2 separate regions of the Homo sapiens genome follow, and region 1 is linked to region 2. Evidence: promoter capture Hi-C in human tissues and cell types (Jung and others, 2019). All regions are on one chromosome and are shown on one strand. Each heading gives the region's core, a stretch centred on a gene start or on the middle of the fragment in contact. The rest is flanking DNA. Distances are from core to core; before and after follow the strand shown. Region 1 overlaps GALNT15 (polypeptide N-acetylgalactosaminyltransferase 15). Region 2 holds the start of HACL1 (2-hydroxyacyl-CoA lyase 1).

The links. The method cuts DNA at HindIII sites, captures the fragments that hold promoters and counts their contacts. A contact is called where the count stands out against the background at its distance.
Region 1: a contact is called between a fragment that was not itself captured here and the fragment with the promoter of HACL1 in region 2, in 2 of the 25 tissues and cell types used here (IMR-90 fibroblasts and lymphoblastoid cells).

Annotation. Positions count from the first base shown.
Region 1 is chr3:16,216,631-16,220,456 of GRCh38, forward strand. GALNT15 (polypeptide N-acetylgalactosaminyltransferase 15) reads left to right here. Exons shown (of 10, transcript NM_054110.5): 7 at 2,773-2,904; 8 at 3,280-3,384. Among named protein-coding and RNA genes, the nearest start is that of GALNT15, 44 kb to the left of the region's middle. The HindIII fragment of the contact is 3,407 bases long and covers 265-3,671 here.
Region 2 is chr3:15,599,354-15,603,557 of GRCh38, forward strand. It overlaps HACL1 (2-hydroxyacyl-CoA lyase 1), which reads right to left and starts at 2,216. Exons shown (of 17, transcript NM_012260.4): 1 at 2,030-2,216; 2 at 1,737-1,841. The coding sequence starts at 2,110. BTD (biotinidase) reads left to right here and starts at 2,392. Exons shown (of 4, transcript NM_001370658.1): 1 at 2,392-2,541. RefSeq lists an enhancer at 2,121-2,763 and a silencer at 2,605-2,664. The HindIII fragment of the contact is 8,334 bases long and covers 1-4,204 here.

The DNA.
Region 1 (3,826 bases), core at 718-3,217, 620 kb after region 2:
TGCTTCTGGGGGCTTGTGTCCCTTTTTCCCTGATTCTTCCCCTGGCGGGGGCTGTTCACACGTGCAGTGGCCTGTTAGCCCTTGGGAGGGGAGCATGCGCAGTGTGTTTACTGAAATTTTTCGCATGCTCACGTGAGGCGTTACCAGTTGCGCATTCCCGGAGGAAGGTCATGTACCAGTTAAACGCCACCATTTTGCCTCTTAGTGCACATGCTTGAGCCCACTTGCCCAACTCCTGAGATCATATCGGGAAGCTGATCACCAATTTCAGGTTTTTCTATCTGTTGGGAGACTGCCGTTCCCTGGTGCCAGCTGCAACTAATTATTATTTTAGAGAGACAGTTAACAGCTGCCTAACCAACACCTGATGGTGGCCTGACATCCCTGGAGGTTGGGGGGGTCGGGGAAAATCCTCTCCTGCCCTGCTTATGTCTGACTAGCTACCTAATAAAACACTCTGACCTCTTAGAAGCTATTGACCCTGTGAAAGTCATTTAACCTCTAAGAACTCAGTAACTGTTGTGAGTATACTATAAAATGAAATGTGAAAGAGTGCTATGGAGAATAAGTGCTCGGCTTACTTTCATAAAGTCTACAGGTGAGGTACCTTTTTCTTCTTATATCCATTTGGGTGTCCATTCTCTGATTCACAGATGTCCACTTTGTTCATTTGATGACTTTTGCAAGGAGAATGGCACCCTTATTGGTCAGTGAGAAGAGCTTTAGCAGAGGGCTCCTTTTATTTCTCTCTCTGTTGAGCATTTCCATTAATTCATGCTTTGGAAATGTCCTATCACTTACTTTGATTTCAAGGTTTCAGTGACATTCCTACTTCCCTGAAGGTATTTGATAGCATGAATTTACTTTAAATTTAAATAACCAAAAGTTAATTTTGCCCTAAAGATTTCTATTTCTCCATCCACCCCAAAACCCCCACAAGGATTCTGAGAGACAGAAATCCTGGGCACCCAAAAGACAAGGCCAGACTTTTGCTGCTTGGGGAGCTGAAATTTCCTTGTTTTCTCTTCTCTCAGACATAATTGTACAGAAGGGAAAGTTCATTGTCAGCCTGCCCCTCACTCAAGGTCAAACAAAGATTGGGTAGATTTATCAGTTTATCTCTTTATCAAGGAAAGTAAAGGTGATAAAACTCATATGAAGAAATGTTTCTGTTTTGGTAGCAAAGTCCAACTCTGGGAAAGGTCTACGGAGGTCTCAAATAAACACAAAGAATGCCAAGAAGCCATCAAGAAACTTATACTAATTTACTTAGAGGAAAAAGTAATAGATCCCCTTGGTTTCATGGTGGGTAAATACACTGAATAAACAAGAAATCCCTGACTTAGAGAAGTTTTTCTCAAACTTTGTGTGAAAAAGACTCACCAGGAGACATGGTTAAAATGCAGATTCCAGGGCCTCCAACCCAAACAACTGTATCATCTCTGGGGCAGGGCCCAGGAATCTACATTTTTAACTAGCTCCGTGGCATTTCTCAGGCAGATGCTCAGGGAATCACACTTTGAGAAGTGTCTAGAGAGAATTTCAGTACAACAGACTTACCACATTTCCAGCTGAGGTCTAAAAGAGAGAGGGAAAGCAGAACCAAACCAATCATACTTTACACAGCCTGGTGGACCCGTGTCTTACTGTCAGATTGGAGGCCACCAAGTGGGAACTCTGACATGGCCAGCTCGCTTCCTCTCCCCATGCCAGGAAAGGGTTCTCTCTTTTTTTGTCTGTGGTCATTCCAACCCATCCTTGTCACCTCTCTCTTCCCTAAAAGTATCCAAGATTTGGTACTAAACTTTTGGATACAGTTCTTTGTATCATCAATATGGCCAAAAACATTAATTTGTACTAGTGTTCAGGATTTGCCTTCATCTCCATCCTAGGACAATTGTATCATAAAGGAGAATCTCAAAAAAAGGAGATAGTGTAGCCCAAAAGAATGATTCATTAATGGTACCCAGAGGTGAAGAAAGATAAATTTGCCTTGCCCCAACCCCTAGCCCACGATTTCCCAACCAACTTCATCTCAATTGCCTATGGGTCAGTTCCTGACTCCATGAGGCCCCTCGTAGTTTCTCCTTACACCAAGCTAGGTGCAAAGCCCCACCATTTTGCCAGCTTCTGCAGAAAAATCATTAAAGCACAGATATCATAGACTCTCTCTCTCTCTCTTTTTTTTTTTTTTTTTTTTTTGCGAGGAAGTCTTGCTCTGTCGCCCAGGCTGGAGTACAGTAACACGATCTTGGCTCACTGTAGCCTCTGCCTCCTGGGTTCAAGTGATTCTCCTGTCTCAGCCTCCTGAGTAACTGGGATTACAGGCATGCGCCACCACACCTGGCTAATTTTTTGTATTTTTAGTAGAGATGGGGTTTCACCATGTTGGCCAGGCTGGTCTTGAACTCCTGACCTCAAGTGATCCACCAGCCTCGGCCTCCCAAAGTGCTGGAGGTGTGAGCCACCACTCCCGGCCTATTGTAGTCTTTATAGACTGGAGATTTGAGGGATTGTGGGAAGGGGCTGATATCACTTACAGTCTTGCTGGTTCCACAACTCTCTGTAGGGAAGATCTGTGCTATTCTATCCCTTCCAGACCTTCTTCTCCCAACACATGACCCTCCCCACTGCAGCCCTGGAGAACTGTGGTCTTGGCCCCTTCCTTCTGTCCTGATCCTTTAGCTTCTTCCCAGCCACTCCATCCCCAACCATGTGAATTCTGGGCAAGACAAGCTTTCATCATCCTGCTTGTGTCTTTCTCCTCCCCAGGCTGAGAAGCCAGACTGCATGGAACGCTTGCAGCTGCAAAGGAGACTGGGTTGTCGGACATTCCACTGGTTTCTGGCTAATGTCTACCCTGAGCTGTACCCATCTGAACCCAGGCCCAGTTTCTCTGGAAAGGCAAGGCATGACCCAGGGAAGATGGGGAGGGACAGGGAAGCTTCCCAAGACAAGAACTAGATGTTCAGCTCTTCCATGTCCCTGGTCAACCATTCACGGTTTAGCAGGGCCTCAGAGGCCTTGGGTCCATCCCGTGCCTCCATGCCAGTCTGAGGAAGGTGGCTGAGTTTTGCCCCATTACCCACCCCAAAGCACCTCCTTCAAGAGGCCTGTCCCTTAGGGTCAGTGGCTTCAGCTTTACCACACCTGTTGTTGTGGCCTGAACAATGTGCCTTGGGCTGCACTCCAGAGAATACAGCAAAGGAATGGTGTCTGACCGAGGGTGTCTTTACAGTGGAATCTGGAATTCACTCCTGTGTGTGTGTCCACTTTCAGCTCCACAACACTGGACTTGGGCTCTGTGCAGACTGCCAGGCAGAAGGGGACATCCTGGGCTGTCCCATGGTGTTGGCTCCTTGCAGTGACAGCCGGCAGCAACAGGTGGGTAGTCAGACTTCTCAGGATGGATGATAGCCCAAGAAGACTTGAAAGTGGGCGATATTTTTCTGGGATGCCCCATACTTCCCTTTGAGGTATCTTCTTTCTGTGGTCCCATGTCCCTTGACTGCCATGGTCCCCCACTGTAATGACTCATCACAGCTCTCCTCACCTCACCTCCATCTGTAAGCACAGACATGTGCCATTGTCAGAAAATAAAAGCATCTTAGTTAAAGGGAAATGGAGAAGCCGTTTGGCCAAACTTTTCATTTGACAGATGAGAAAACTGAGGCTTAGGGTCACTAGCCCAGGGATTGCAAACTCAGAAGCCTCCAGGATTCAGGCAGGGTTCAGTTGTCCCAGGACTGAAGAAGAAGGTAATCAAATCAGGATAAGGATCTAGAGAAAACAGGGTCATCCCAGCCTCCAGCACCATTTGGTCATT
Region 2 (4,204 bases), core at 966-3,465:
ATTCCTGGACTTGAGTAATCCTCCTGCCTCAGCCCCCTTCGTAGCTGGGATTACTGGCATGTACAACCATGCCTCGCATCATCTTTCTGAAGTACAAATCTAATTACATCGCCCACCTGTTTAGAAAAACCTTTAGTCTCCCCCATTGCCTACTGTTAAAAAAAAAAAAAAATTCAAACTCTTTTTAGATTTCCCACAACCTCCCCTCAACCTACCTACCAGTCTCACAGCTCACCATGCCTTTACCTACCTTGAGGGAACCACATGAACTAACATTACCTCTACAGGCAATCTTCTCTGTCCTCAAAGAGAACCAGTCACCCCTTCTGTGCTACTACATCTATTGTGAGAGTTATAATAGATGAGTCTTTTTCTGTAAGTCTTACCCTCACCTTCCAGGACTGATCAACGTGAAGATCAAGACTAAACCTCACTCCTTCTTTACATCCCTCTCTCCTACAGGTTATGTAGCACAATCCTTAGTATACAGTACTTAGTCAATAAATGTTTGCTGTATGAAGAAATCAGTGGCAGATATGTCATCTCTACAAAAACAGTTAAGTATAGGTTCCATTCATAGGTCAATAGCTTCATTTTTTCACACAGATGAAAGAACAGAATGTTGTTCTAACAAAGACAAGTAAAATGTAGAAGCAACAGAAACTCAAAACCTCCTAGTTTTAAGATTAAAAAATACAAATCTCAAACCTTGTAGATAAAGAATGTCATTCAATAAAGAATGTCATTCAATAAAGAATGTCATTCAATTAATAAATAATGTATAATATTAAGCATCTACACCACGTGAAAGCACAAACCAAGCCAGGCACTGTGGTGATATAACAAATGAATCACAACTTCTGCCCTCCAGGCACTCATGTATGATGGCAAAAGGCACCACTTAGGGTGGCCAGGCAGTTGTTTGGGCAAGAGGAGGCAAGAATTTAAATTAGAAGGCAACGGTGGGAGTGTAAAGCAGGAATATTTAGCCTCAGCTGGACTGAGAGTATGTGATATCACAGAAGTGGATTCTTGACCTTTCAAGCCCGCACTACTGAGAGAAGAGCAAGGTGGATTGGCAGAGGATGCACTTAAAGTGGATTGACAAAACGTCGTATCTTCCTTATCCTGCTTCCAAATAAGCCTCTAAGAAAGGTGGCAGCATGATGTGGTGGAAAAAGCATCAGGCTAGGATCTGAGCCATCTGAGTTTCCATCAAGGCACTACCATTTGTGATATCCTCCACCCTGCCCCGAACCAATCATACAACAAAGCCTTGGCCTTCACTCATTTATCCCACAGGTAATCTCTGAACACCTTTCTTATGCAGGCACCACACTAAGCACTGGGGGTACAGATGTGTCGTGAAGAAATAATATCCCTGCTCTAATGGAGCTTGTAGCCTAATAGGGAAGTCAGACTTTACTCATAAACTGTCCATTCCAATCATGACATACAGTATAGTAGTAAGAGAATGGACTCAGACCCAGAATACGTGGGTTCAAACCCTGGCTCTGCTACTACCAGCTGTGTCACCAAAGGCAAGTTTTACTTAACCTGTGTCTTTTCTCATCTGTCAACTTGGTGTAACAACAGTTAATATTCAACAGTGATTGATATGATATATGTAAAGTAGCAGAAGAGTGGTAAGCGCTATCTGGGTGTTTGCAATGCATACCTACCGCTATTACTGATCATTCCCAGTAACGCATTCAGCCACCTGAGTCCATACTCACCGCTTGCTCATTCCTCATCCCGATGTACTTGATGCCTAGCTGCTGGGCAGCAATGGCGATTTCGGTCACTGGGATGCCTACGATGCCAAATATGTACTCCACATCCTGAGGAACGAAGAACAGGGGAGTAAACTCCCAAGGCCCCACCATATCGCCACATCCTTCCCTCCCTCCCGGGCGCTAAAAGGAAAACCCCCCGACCCCCATCGCCCATTTCTACTCGTCTCCAAGACAACATCGCGGTCCCCGCCAGCTTCCGTAGGAGCCTTTCATTCCAGGAAGGTCCATCGTACTTGCGTTTTCAGGGCCTGAGCGATGACTTTAGCACCAGACACCTGCTCCTCGCTGCGCTCTGCGAAGTTACTGTCCGGCATCTTCCACCGAAAAGCTCTAAGCACTCACGCAGCCGGCAAACAAGCGGAATCATCCAGCAAGGCAAACGCGAAATCGGCAGCACGCCACCTCTGGTACTGCACCTCTGACGGACAGGAGGGCAACCAACTGCCTTAAACAACGGGAAGGAAGAGGCGGTCTAAATTCGTCCACTTCCCGGGAGAGGTGAGAATGTAAACACGCGCGTTCTCCAATCAGAACTGCGCTCTCTTCTCGGCTCCTCCATTCGCGCGCCAGAATGCCAGAGGGAGGCGGGACTAGCAGGAGATTGCTGCCTATGCAAAGCAGGTAAGAAGCCGAACTCTGAGGCCTCTCGCCATTGTCTCCGAGTCGGCCAGCTGGAGCGTTTTCGGGGCTGTAAAGGGAGAATGGCGCATGCGCATATTCAGGGCGGAAGGCGCGCTAAGAGCAGGTACGGAGGGGGCGTGGTGCGGCGCGGAGGGGGTGTGGTAAGGGCGTGCGGTCCAGACCCCGCCCCGGGCGCCCAGTTGGACTTGGGGAGGGCTGCGCAAAGGCTGCCGGGAGCTGGGAAGCCCGGCGCGCGTCGTTTGCTGGGGCTGTTTGTGCGTTGCTGCTGTGCTACCGCGTTGCGTTTTCTAGGCATTTACTTACACGCTTTGTGGTTTACGCTCTCATAACCTTGTGGTTTTATAGTCCTTAAATTATTGTAGCGCACGTTACTTAAATCCAGAAGCAGATGTGTACCCCAGCAAGAGATAAAATGACGCTCAGAGTCAGTAGATCCAGACCGTGCCTGAGATCCTGAATCCTGTTTCCTACCCACTATTCAGCCATTGGGTCACAAGCGATGAAAAGAGCACCTTGAAGGTAGTATAGAGCACTGTTTTCTCCAGCCCTTGCTACTAATCCATATTACTCTCCGCTAATATCTTTCCAAAATTAGGAACTATGGCGTTTCATAATTCTTAGGTTGGGTCCCTACCTACAACCAGCCCTGCACCCGATAGCCTTTTAAAACATTTTTGTGTGAAAATCGTTTGCAATGTGCAATATCTGAAACTACTGCCTTGGAGTCATTAGACCCTCTGCTCAGTGACAATAAACATAAAATTTCCAATTGTAATAAACAGTGGAACTTTTAATTTTTTGAGGATTTGGAGTCATTTTAAGCAAAAAGAACAGTGATAAGTGGACAGTAAAGAGATGAGAGGGGAGTGGGTCATGGGTAGTGAAATGAGTGAGAAGCACTGGAAGTGAAACGATTTCTAAACCCAGACATTTTCAAACTGTAGTCCTGGGTCTTTTCAAAAGGTCTTCCCCTCTTTTTCTCAACCCCTCAACCCCACCCCAAGCAGAGGAGAGTGAAGTGGTTGCCTCCCTGCATATGTGGACGGTGTTAGTCCATTTTCATACTGCTATAAAGAAATACCCAAAACTGGGTAATTTATAAAGAAAAAGAGGTTTAATGGTCTCACAGTTCCAAATGGCTACGGAGGCCTCACAATCATGGCAGAAGGTGAAGGAGGAGCAAAGGCATGTCTTACATGGTGGCAGGCAAGAGAGCGTGTGCAGGGGAACTGCCCTTTATAAAACCATCAGATCTCATGAGACTTACTATCATTAGAACAGCATGGGAAAAATCCCCTCCCCATGATTCAGTTACTTCCCACTGGGTCCCTCTCACCACATGTGGGGATTATGGGAGCTATAATTCAAGATGAGATTTGGATGAGGACACAGCCAAACTGTTCTGCCCCTGGCCCCTCCCAAATATCATATCCTCACATTTCAAAACCAATCATGCCTTCCCAACAGTCCCCCAAAGTCTTAACTCATTTCAGCATTAACTCGAAAGTCCACAGTCCAGAGTTTCATCTGAGACAAGGCAAGTCCCTTCCGCCTATGAGCCTGTAAAATCAAAAGCAAGCTAGTGGCTGGGCGCAGTGGCTCACACCTGTAATCCCAGCACTTTGGGAGGCCGAGGCGGGCGGATCATGAGGTCAAGAGATGGAGACCATCCTGGTCAACACGGTGAAACCCTATCTCTACTAAAAATACAAAAAATTAGGCGGGCATGGTGGCAGGCGCCTGTAATCCCAGCTACTCAGGAGGCT